3 separate regions of the Homo sapiens genome follow, and regions 1 and 3 are each linked to region 2. Evidence: promoter capture Hi-C in 16 types of primary human blood cells and fetal thymus (Javierre and others, 2016). All regions are on one chromosome and are shown on one strand. Each heading gives the region's core, a stretch centred on a gene start or on the middle of the fragment in contact. The rest is flanking DNA. Distances are from core to core; before and after follow the strand shown. Region 1 overlaps ZNF277 (zinc finger protein 277). Region 2 holds the start of TMEM168 (transmembrane protein 168). Region 3 has its middle 310 kb from the start of SMIM30.

Region 1 (3,234 bases), core at 36-2,535, 580 kb after region 2:
TCTTTCCATTGCCATGTCAAATATATGAGACTGGACTTAATGGTTTATAGAAATAGAATGACAGCCTGTAGAAAATTGGTAACAGCCATATAGATGATGAAAGACAGAATTCAAGGTCCATGTGGTAGGTCATTCAGTTACAGGCTTAAAGTTATAAAGGCCAGATCTAAAGTATTCTTTTAAAAAATGTAATTATTATTTAAACAACATTAAAACTTTATTTTAAAAAACTGAAATACTATCCTTAAATGCTAACTATGATCACCTTGACAGAATATCATCCTCCTGATATTTTGCATTTTAGTTGGTATGCATACCTTTCACAAGCATAAAACATCTATTCAGTTTTTTATTCTACTTCAGTTCCTCTGCTCAAAATAGTAGCCACTCTAAATGCCTTGAATAAATTTCAAGCATATTCTAACATTAGACTGTTATACAATGTTTACTGTATGCAGCTTTGATAAACACTGGATGTACAAAAGTGAAATAAGGCAACTCTTGACCTCAAGAAGTTCACTGTCCACTGGGGTAGACAAAGTTGCCAAAAAATAACTACAGTGTGACATGGTAAGTGGATAATGGAGATATGGGAAAGGAAGCAGGGTGACTGAAGATGAGGCTAGACAAGTAGATTAGAATCTTAAATGCCACACAGAGAGTTTGGACCTAATTATACATGTAGCAGAATTACACTGAAGATTTCAAGTGGAGATCCATGAATATATTTGTTTTACAATGTGGATTAAAGGAGGTAAAGTCAAGAGTCAGTGAGATCAACAGGAAGGTTTTGCAATCGTTCAGGCTAGAATTCCATTCTGGTCAAACACTTATTAAACATTAACAATGTGCCAAGAACAGAATCAGGCTGACAAACACACATACAACTGGTTCTCAAGAGCACTTTCTGGGGCATGGGAGATGCAGGTAGGTAATTCAGCAGTAATGGTGAGGGTTAGTAATGGAATTAGCACAGTGGCTGTAGCTATGAATAGAGGGAACAGGTTCAAAATATACTACAGGCGCAGAAAAATAAGGCTTGCTAACTGATCAAATTCAGTACCTGAGGGCGAGTTAGGAATCAAGGATGCTTCCTAGGTTTCTAGCTTAGACTTGATGCCATTTATTGAAATAGGAAATACAAGAATGAGGAGTTTACATCACCTGCTACCCTTCCCTCTTTCTTCCAGAGACATCACACATGAGATAGTAAGTTCTCTGGAAGATAAACATTACCAAAATCATCAGATAATAAGGTCCAGAATCCAAGCATTAGCAAAATCATCAACTACTAAACACCCATTCGGAGGGAAAAAAGTTGACTTTGACAGAATATTACAATATGGAGATACAGATTAATACTCAGAAGAAATAGCCTCAGTCACAAAAGCCTCCTAAATGTATTATTACTGAATTGTGCTACCTTGCTGATTTTTAAAAACAGCAAAAGAACAAATGCCAATGACACCACGTGAGGGATGCTGAATCTATTTATTATCTGTTCTTAATTTTAGGAGACAAATTGAAATTCTGGTTACTGTTCAGATGTATGTAAAGCAGTGTCCTTTAACCCTTGACCTAGTGTGCCAGGTGCAGTAGCTCACGCCTGTAATCCCAGCACTTTGGGAGGCCGAGGAGGGTGGATCACCTGTGGTCAGGAGTTTGAGACCAGCCTGGCCTAGATGGCGAAACTCTGTCTCTACTAAAAATATAAAAATTAGCTGGGCATGGTGGCACACGCCTGTAATCCCAGCTACTCGGGAGGCTGTGGCAGGAGAATCACTTGAACCCGGGAGGCGGAGGTTGCAGTGAGCTGAGATCGTGCCACTCCACTCCAGCTTGGGTTACAGAGCAGGACTCTGTCTCAAAAAAAAAAACAAAAAAAAAAAACAAAAAACAAAAACAAAAAAAGCAAAAAAATCCTTGACCTCAATGTGGGGACTTTCTTGGAGAAGGATGGAGCCACAGAAGTCTGGCAACACAGTGGTCTCAGTGAGTGTTGCACCTGCCTGCACCCCACCCACTGACTCACTCTAGCAGAGATTTTGAGGAATTGCAAGGATTTCTATAAAAAGTCTTCCTAGGCCTCACTGTCCCAGGGTATTAAACACACAGACTAACATTTTAATCAGAGCAAGAAGAAAATCTCTTAAAAGAAGCAGTTTTCAAGAAGTCAAAAAGGTGTATGTTTTTTAAAAATTTTATTTTTATTATACTTTAAGTTCCAGGGTACATGTGCACAACTTGGAGGTTTGTTGCATATGTATACATGTGCCATATTGGTTTGCTGCACCCATTAACTCGTCATTTACATTAGGTATTTCTCCTAATGCTATCCCTTCCCCATCCCCCAACCCCACGACAGGCCCGGGTATGTGATGTTCCCTGCCCTGTGTCCAAGTGTTCTCATTGTTCAATTTCCACCTATAAGTGAGAACATGTGGTGTTTGGTTTTCTGTCCTTGCGATAGTTTGCTCACAATGATGGTTTTCAGCTTCATCCATGTCCCTACAAAGGACATGAACTCATCCAAAAAGGTGTATGATTTTTACAGGGAAAGACATACTTGATAACCTAAATGACTGCCTAACAAAAAATATACTTTTAATATAAATATTTACACCTAAAATTTATATCACACCTTGTTGGCTTTGAAAAGATTTTGGAAAAAGTAACAGAATGATACATAGGTTATTAAGCAGAATTTTTAATGACAACTTTATCTTATAAAAATGACATAAAAAATCAACCATTAATTTCTCCTGTTGACTGCTACAAGTCAATGAGAATACTGGGTATTTCTCACCGAGGGTGAGAAATTTTTTTATGTTATAGATACCGCAAATTCACTACTACTCAACACTTTTATTGAAAACAAACTGGAATCAAAAACTAAGCTTTCTATCAGTTACTTAATTCAATCTACTAGTCATTGAAACATTGGTCCTGGATTATTTCCTCAAAGTTTGTGACAATATGGGGGAAAGAACACTCATATACTACAGGTGGCAATGTATGCTGAATATATTTTAAGAGGAAAGTCTGGCATCTGTCAAAATTTTAAACTTGCATAACCTTTGATCCAGCAATTTTCTCCCAAAATATACAACCAGTGGGCAAGAATATATGTACATAAAGTTGTTCATTGCAACATTACTGAAAAACTAAAGTCACACTATATGTTCATTTATAAGGGAATGGATAAAGAATGGCACAATCATATTTTGGAATATG
Region 2 (2,981 bases), core at 146-2,645:
TGGAAAGTTGGGGCTTTCCTTTTGATTTAGTTCTAGAAAGTCAGCATGAATCAGCCGTAAGTTCCTTGCCTCCAGACCCTATTGTCCTGCCTCACAGCTATGTAGTACAGAGTCTGTCACAGGCTACCCAGAAATGTACACAGAGACTGTTAACAGGCTACAGAACAGATTGGGAAAGGGCTCTGGGGTTGTGACCCTCACCAAGCACAGGCATCTTGCATCTCTGACATGTTAATGGTGGATGCCAGCACTCTCACTACTGCCTCGGAAGCTTACCTTGCTGTTAGGGATGGGTTCTCGATCTCTACACTTGCTATACTCCTACAGGTGACCTGGGAGTGTAGCTTTCTGTGCCTTTTTTGACTCATGGCTTCCAGCGGGTACACATGATTAGTTAAACAAGTGTTCAGCATTTCAGCGGCAGCCATTAGACTCTTAACTCAGGTGGGGAATTCTCCAAATACGGAAGGGGATTCAAATGGGGGGCATAATAAATGTATATAAATGTCCATTAAAGGCAAGTTGAGTTGGAAGTGATGACAATATATTTGAGTAGAAACATCTAGCAGGTAGTTGGAAATGTGGCACTCGTGTTCCCCAGAGAGCTAGTTACAGATTTGGGAAGTTGAGTTGTGATTGCTTTTAAAATCAGGAGTCTAGAGAGAATCTAACTCAAAATTTTCATCCACATATGCAGAATCTCAATCTGAGAGTTGTTCATTCCTATAGATGTGCTGGCCACACCAACCCCCAACATCTATTATGAAAATTAGGAAATTCACACTCTATTATGGAAAATAGGAAAAATATATAGATAATACATGCAAAACAAGTGGGAGGAGAGAACTACGGATCGTGGAGAGCCTATTGCATATTATTATTTTACAAATATTTAAGTGCCAACTATGTGTCAGGCACTATGCTAAGGTGATTTAATGTTGAGCAAAACCCGACATGTCCCTGCATTTGAGGAACTGAAAGGTCTGAGGGAGGGCCTAAGGAGCTTGGGCCTTAGCTGGTTACAAAGCCATATATTATGCCATATATATTAATGAGCAGCAACGCCTCCCGCAGTATTTACAGCCCACGCGTGGCAGTCCTGTCCACCCTGTCCCCGTTCGGTCCAGCCCGAGGCGGTGGCCTAGATGCTTGATGGGCACTGTCAGCCTGATCTTTGGTGGTCTTCCCGCTGTCTGTTCTCAGCTGCTGATTCCAGGTCCCAGGAGTCGACTTTGGCTTGAGGAAGGCAGGCGCCTTAGGTGGGGCAGTTGACACTCGCGCAGCGCCTTGCTCACCTGAGTGTGTGGCGGCGCGCGGGTTTGGGCGGGGAGGGGGCCGGGCCTCGGGAAGGAGGCGCGCCGCGCAGTTTGACCCCGGCGGCGTTCCGTACCGTCGCGGATTTCGGCGGCGGAAACATGGCGGTCGCGGCCGGGCCGGTAACGGAGAAAGTTTACGCCGACACTGGCCTGTATTAGCGCGTATGGCCTCGGGCCCTCGTTCCCCAAGGCGTGCCGCCTCCCTGTTCTCAGTCGCAGGCTGAAGCCTTGTCTGCTCTCCTCCTTTTTGGTTTGGTTTTGGAACTGACTCCGAGGGTTGGGAGAGCGCGTTGGTGGCGACGGCCGAGTCAGGTAGGGAGAAATGGGTGGACGGCAGGGCGGCGAGATCTAGGCATAGACACTGCCAGGGCTCCGCGTGGTCCGGACCCCAAGCTCCGCCCAGTCGGCCTCCCAGGGCCGGGGTAGGATACCTGCCTCTGGAGGAGTTGACAGTGGTGGTTGGAGATTGGAGGGTGTGGGAGCGCCTCTCCGTATTTCGCAAGGGTTCCCCCTCAACTGGGCGCCACGTTGTGGTCGCGTTCTCCGAGGCAGAGGATGGTGGAGAACAGCCAAGCTCCTTGTCGGACCTCCCACATCTCGCTAGAAGGAGGCCGAAAGGGAGAGAAATTGCTGTTGCTGCTCTAGTGCTGAGGAGTTTGATATTCTAGATGACATTTTCCTCGTATGAGATGGCTCAAAGAGTTATCAGTAATTCAGAACTGAAGCACTGAAATTCCCTGTTTTTTCAGTGTAGTTCTTTCAGCCTTGACACTTCTAGATGGGACAGAGTTTCTGAGTGAAAGATAATGCAAGTGATACGGTATGCCTCAAGCCATTCCCTAGAGGTAGGACATGGAGAGAGAATTGGTTTGGAAGAATTTGGGTGAATTAAGTAAAGACTGGTGGAAAGCTGAAATAGAAACCAAACATTCATGGACTCTCCCTTAGTTCTACTAGTTATTAGTTGTGGGATATAGCTAAGTTCTGTATTCTCTTTAGGCATTAGTAAGTGTCCAATGGTGACTATTGTTGTTAAATGTAGTTATTTCTTTATTAGTCTTTATTTTTCAACAAGTATTTATTGAATACCTTCTTGATGCCGGATTTTTGCTAGTCACTGGGTGTACAGTATTGAAGACAAACCCTCAGAGACCTTTTGATCTAGTGGGAAATGCAGACATGAAATAAGTGATGGTATGTAACAGAGAAAGTATGGGGGTCATGTAATGGGGAGGGGGCAGGGATAATCTCTTAAGAAAATGATTTATCTGAGACCTGAAGAGTTGGAATAAGCCAGGTGTGAGCACTGGGGTGGGGCCAGGAGGAGGAAAAGGAGTGTACCTGGCAAGGGAATAGCATTTGTGCAGTTTGTAATTGAAAGGTCAGTAAGGTTGGAAAATAAAGTGTGAGAGGAAAACTGGTAACAGATAAGGCAGGAGAGTTATTCAGGCCCAACACGGAGTGCCTTATAAGGCACTGTAAGGAGTTTTGACTTTATTGCTAAGGGTGATGGGACGCCATTGGAGCATTTTACATAGTGGAGTGCTAAATTTTGGTTTTAAAAAGTACACTTCTTAGAGAGGGCAAGAGTGGATACAGGGAAATGTTCAACATGATGGTGGCCAAAATTGGGATGGTGACCCTGGGGACGAGAAGTAGAAACAT
Region 3 (3,168 bases), core at 354-2,853, 630 kb before region 2:
TTCTGAAGGACTTGCCTGAGGCAGTTTTACAGTTAGCTTTAAAAAAATAAATAGAAGAGGTACATTCTAAAATAACAATAACAACTATAATATAATAAACATATAAACCAGTAACATAGTTGTTTATTATCATCATCAGTATTATATACTGTACATAATACTTTTATATGGCTGGCAGCATAGTAGGTTTGTTTAAATCAGTATCACCACAAATATATTAGTAATGCATTGCACTATGGTGTTATGACTGCTGTGACATTACTAGACAATAGGATTTTTTCAGCTTTATTATAATCTTTATTATTATTATGCAGAGACAGGGTCTCGCTATATTGTCCAGGCTGGTTTCAAACTCCTGGCCTCAAGGAATCCTCCCACCTTGGCCTTCCAAAGCACTGGGATTATAGGTATGAGCCACCGCCATCGTACGCTTATGGAACTACTGCCTTATAATGTGGTCTATTGTTGATTAAACTGTCTTTATGCGGGGCATGCTGTACCAGCCATAAACAAACATAAAACGAAATTTTAAAGCAATACTATTTATAAGAGTATGCATAAACATCAAATACCTAAAAACAAATCTAACAAAAAAGAGTTGTAAGATCTCTATAACGAAAACTGCAAAACATGATGGAGGAAATTTAAAGTCCTAAATAAATGGAGACATATACTATGTTCACGTATTTAAAGACTTCTGTAAAGATACCAATTACCATCAAGCTGATCTATAGATCAAATTCAATCAATAGATTAAATTCCAAACACTCTCAGTGGAAATTGATGAATTAATTTTTTGCACTTTATTTTAAAGAATAAGGGGCCAAAAATAACCAAGACAATGTTAAAAAACAAAGCTAGAGGTCCTTAAACTTGAAGTTTTTTAGTACGTCAGAATTATTTTACTATCATATTTATTTTATCAGTATGTTCTACTTAGCTTAGACAAATTGCTGCTTGTCCTAAATCCCTCCAGTTGTTTGAACTGAGTGGTCCTAAGCTTTGTTACAGTAGATCCCTAAAGAATTGTTTATCAGAGTTGTAGTTGGCCCCACTGTTACAAGGGACCCAACCCTTGTGGAAACTGGACATACCTTGAGCTTTGTTTTGGGCACATCCCTTATTTGCTTTTAGTGCATTTTCCTTTTGCTTTTCTTTTTTCCTCTTATAATCTCTAAGCTTCTTGCCTTTACTTATGCCTTTTATCTTAGTCTTTTAACTTTCATTTTAATATTTTAATCTCATTAATTGCTAATCTCTTTCCCTTCATTTTAAAGCCCAACTATTTTGTCTTATTATTTTTAGCCCAAAGTTTGGGAATAAAAAGTTGACTTCCCTGTGGGCTAGTCTTTCAGTTATTAGTTCTCACCAAACTCATTTGTGAACAGAACCATGAGGAGCTGAATAGTAGACAGTTTAATTGAGAAACCTTATACTCATTGAGGTCTAAAAATAGTATTTGTTTGTCTTGTATCTGCTGCCCACTGTTCTCTAACCCCCTCCCTGATAAGTAACAGAAATTCTAATTATTCTTGTATGTATCTGGTTAATAATCAATCAATCAAAAATATTAGTAATGTCATATGTACTCTTTGATGTTCTAATCCCTTTCCTTAATTTCCCTATTTTGCAGATGAGGAAGTTTGGATTAAGAAACCTGCCCAGGCTCGCCCGCTAGAAAGTCATAGAGGCAAGGTTTGAACCCTGGCAGTTTGACTTTAGAGCCCATAACCATTATAAAAAGCTCATTGAGAGAAACCATTACTTATGTAAGATAGCTCTTAATATATTTAGTATATTCATTTTTCATCAAGGGCTTTTATCTAACATACTTGAATAGGCCTCATGACTTCATAAAATCCTTGAATTTGAAGGAGACTTCTATGTGTATACAGTTCAGTTCTTGATATTTGCAGTAGTTGTGCTTTATAAAGTGACCATGAACACAGAATTAGCAAATACTGAGTCATTGCTCCTAGAGGAAATTTAGTGTTATTTTCCTTGGAAAAATACAGAGATAAGCTTTTGCGAGCATCTGGGAACAACATTTCTTATCAACTGATTAATACATAACCTTGTTTTATGTGTGTTTCTGTTTAAAGACATCATATTTAATATTTATTGTTAATTTATTACCAGTGAACTCATGGCCAACATCACTATAAATCATTCCTGAATAAAGCGTATCTAACATACATTTTCTGCATAAGGCACATCCCAGCCTTCTCGTGCTTAGGAACATTAAACAGCACTTCAGCACCATGCTTGGGAGCCATTTTAAACAGAGAAATCATTAACAAAATGCAAAAAATGTGAAAAAAAATGTGGCACTAAAGGATACTCGTTTACAGTTTGAGATCGGAAACAAAAAAGCAAAGTGTCACCCGTTTCCACATCAGCTGGGAATGTGCACATCAGGAAATTCAAAGTTTTTGATGTTTTGCACATGCATACATCTGATAATGACTTTGAAAGGACCTATGGTCTTTGAGGTTACAAGTACACTTTAGTGCGTAGGTGAATTCACAAATTCAGAATCTGTGAATAATGAGGACCAATTGTATATTATCTGCTGAGAAGAAGAAGCTTAGTGATCAGCAGATCCTTAAAAAAGTCTGTGACCTCTCACTCCTTAAGGCCAAAACCAAGACCCGGAATAAGTTAAAGTTACTAGATTATTTGACTCAGGCTAAGCGTATTGAGGATATCACGAGTGAACAGTATTATATTTGCACTTTGTATAATTCCTTCTACTGTATTTTGGTGTGAACAGCAATGTTTCACACTGAGGACTAAGGAACTACCTATGTAAATACACCCTCATTTACAAGTGAAAACTTGAAATTACCTAGTGACCAAATGACCTATTATATTAATGTCACTCATTGACATTTGTCAATTTTGTCAACTTTAATCAGTAGAATTTCTAGGATCATTGTAATGATAAAGATAAGGGAAGATTTTATTCCCAATGTTGTATAGAATCATATTTATAAGAACACAGAGAAGATTTTCCTCTAATGCCAGGACAAAGTAAGCATTTTTATCTGAAGCTACTGGCTTAGTTTTATCAAGGGCACATTATAAATCTTACAGTGATTTTCTTTCTCTGCTTAATGTTCACTGCTAGAAAACTTAGCCAAATGTATGGTCCAACATCAGCTTATG

What was found. The method cuts DNA at HindIII sites, captures the fragments that hold promoters and counts their contacts. A CHiCAGO score of 5 or more calls a contact.
Region 1: a contact is called between a fragment that was not itself captured here and the fragment with the promoter of TMEM168 in region 2, in 7 of 17 cell types (naive CD4 T cells, non-activated CD4 T cells, total CD8 T cells and 4 more). The highest score is 7.9, in naive CD4 T cells.
Region 3: a fragment that was not itself captured here is called in contact with the fragment with the promoter of TMEM168 in region 2 in 1 of 17 cell types (M1 macrophages); the score reaches 5.5 in M1 macrophages.

Annotation. Positions count from the first base shown.
Region 1 is chr7:112,209,122-112,212,355 of GRCh38, reverse strand. The region is part of intron 1 of ZNF277 (zinc finger protein 277); the gene reads right to left. Among named protein-coding and RNA genes, the nearest start is that of ZNF277, 4.0 kb to the right of the region's middle. The HindIII fragment of the contact is 3,228 bases long and covers 1-2,899 here.
Region 2 is chr7:112,788,807-112,791,787 of GRCh38, reverse strand. TMEM168 (transmembrane protein 168) reads left to right here and starts at 1,395. Exons shown (of 5, transcript NM_022484.6): 1 at 1,395-1,628. RefSeq lists an enhancer at 1,007-1,136. The HindIII fragment of the contact is 5,754 bases long and covers 274-2,981 here.
Region 3 is chr7:113,423,431-113,426,598 of GRCh38, reverse strand. No RefSeq gene overlaps it. Among named protein-coding and RNA genes, the nearest start is that of SMIM30, 310 kb to the right of the region's middle. The HindIII fragment of the contact is 843 bases long and covers 1,182-2,024 here.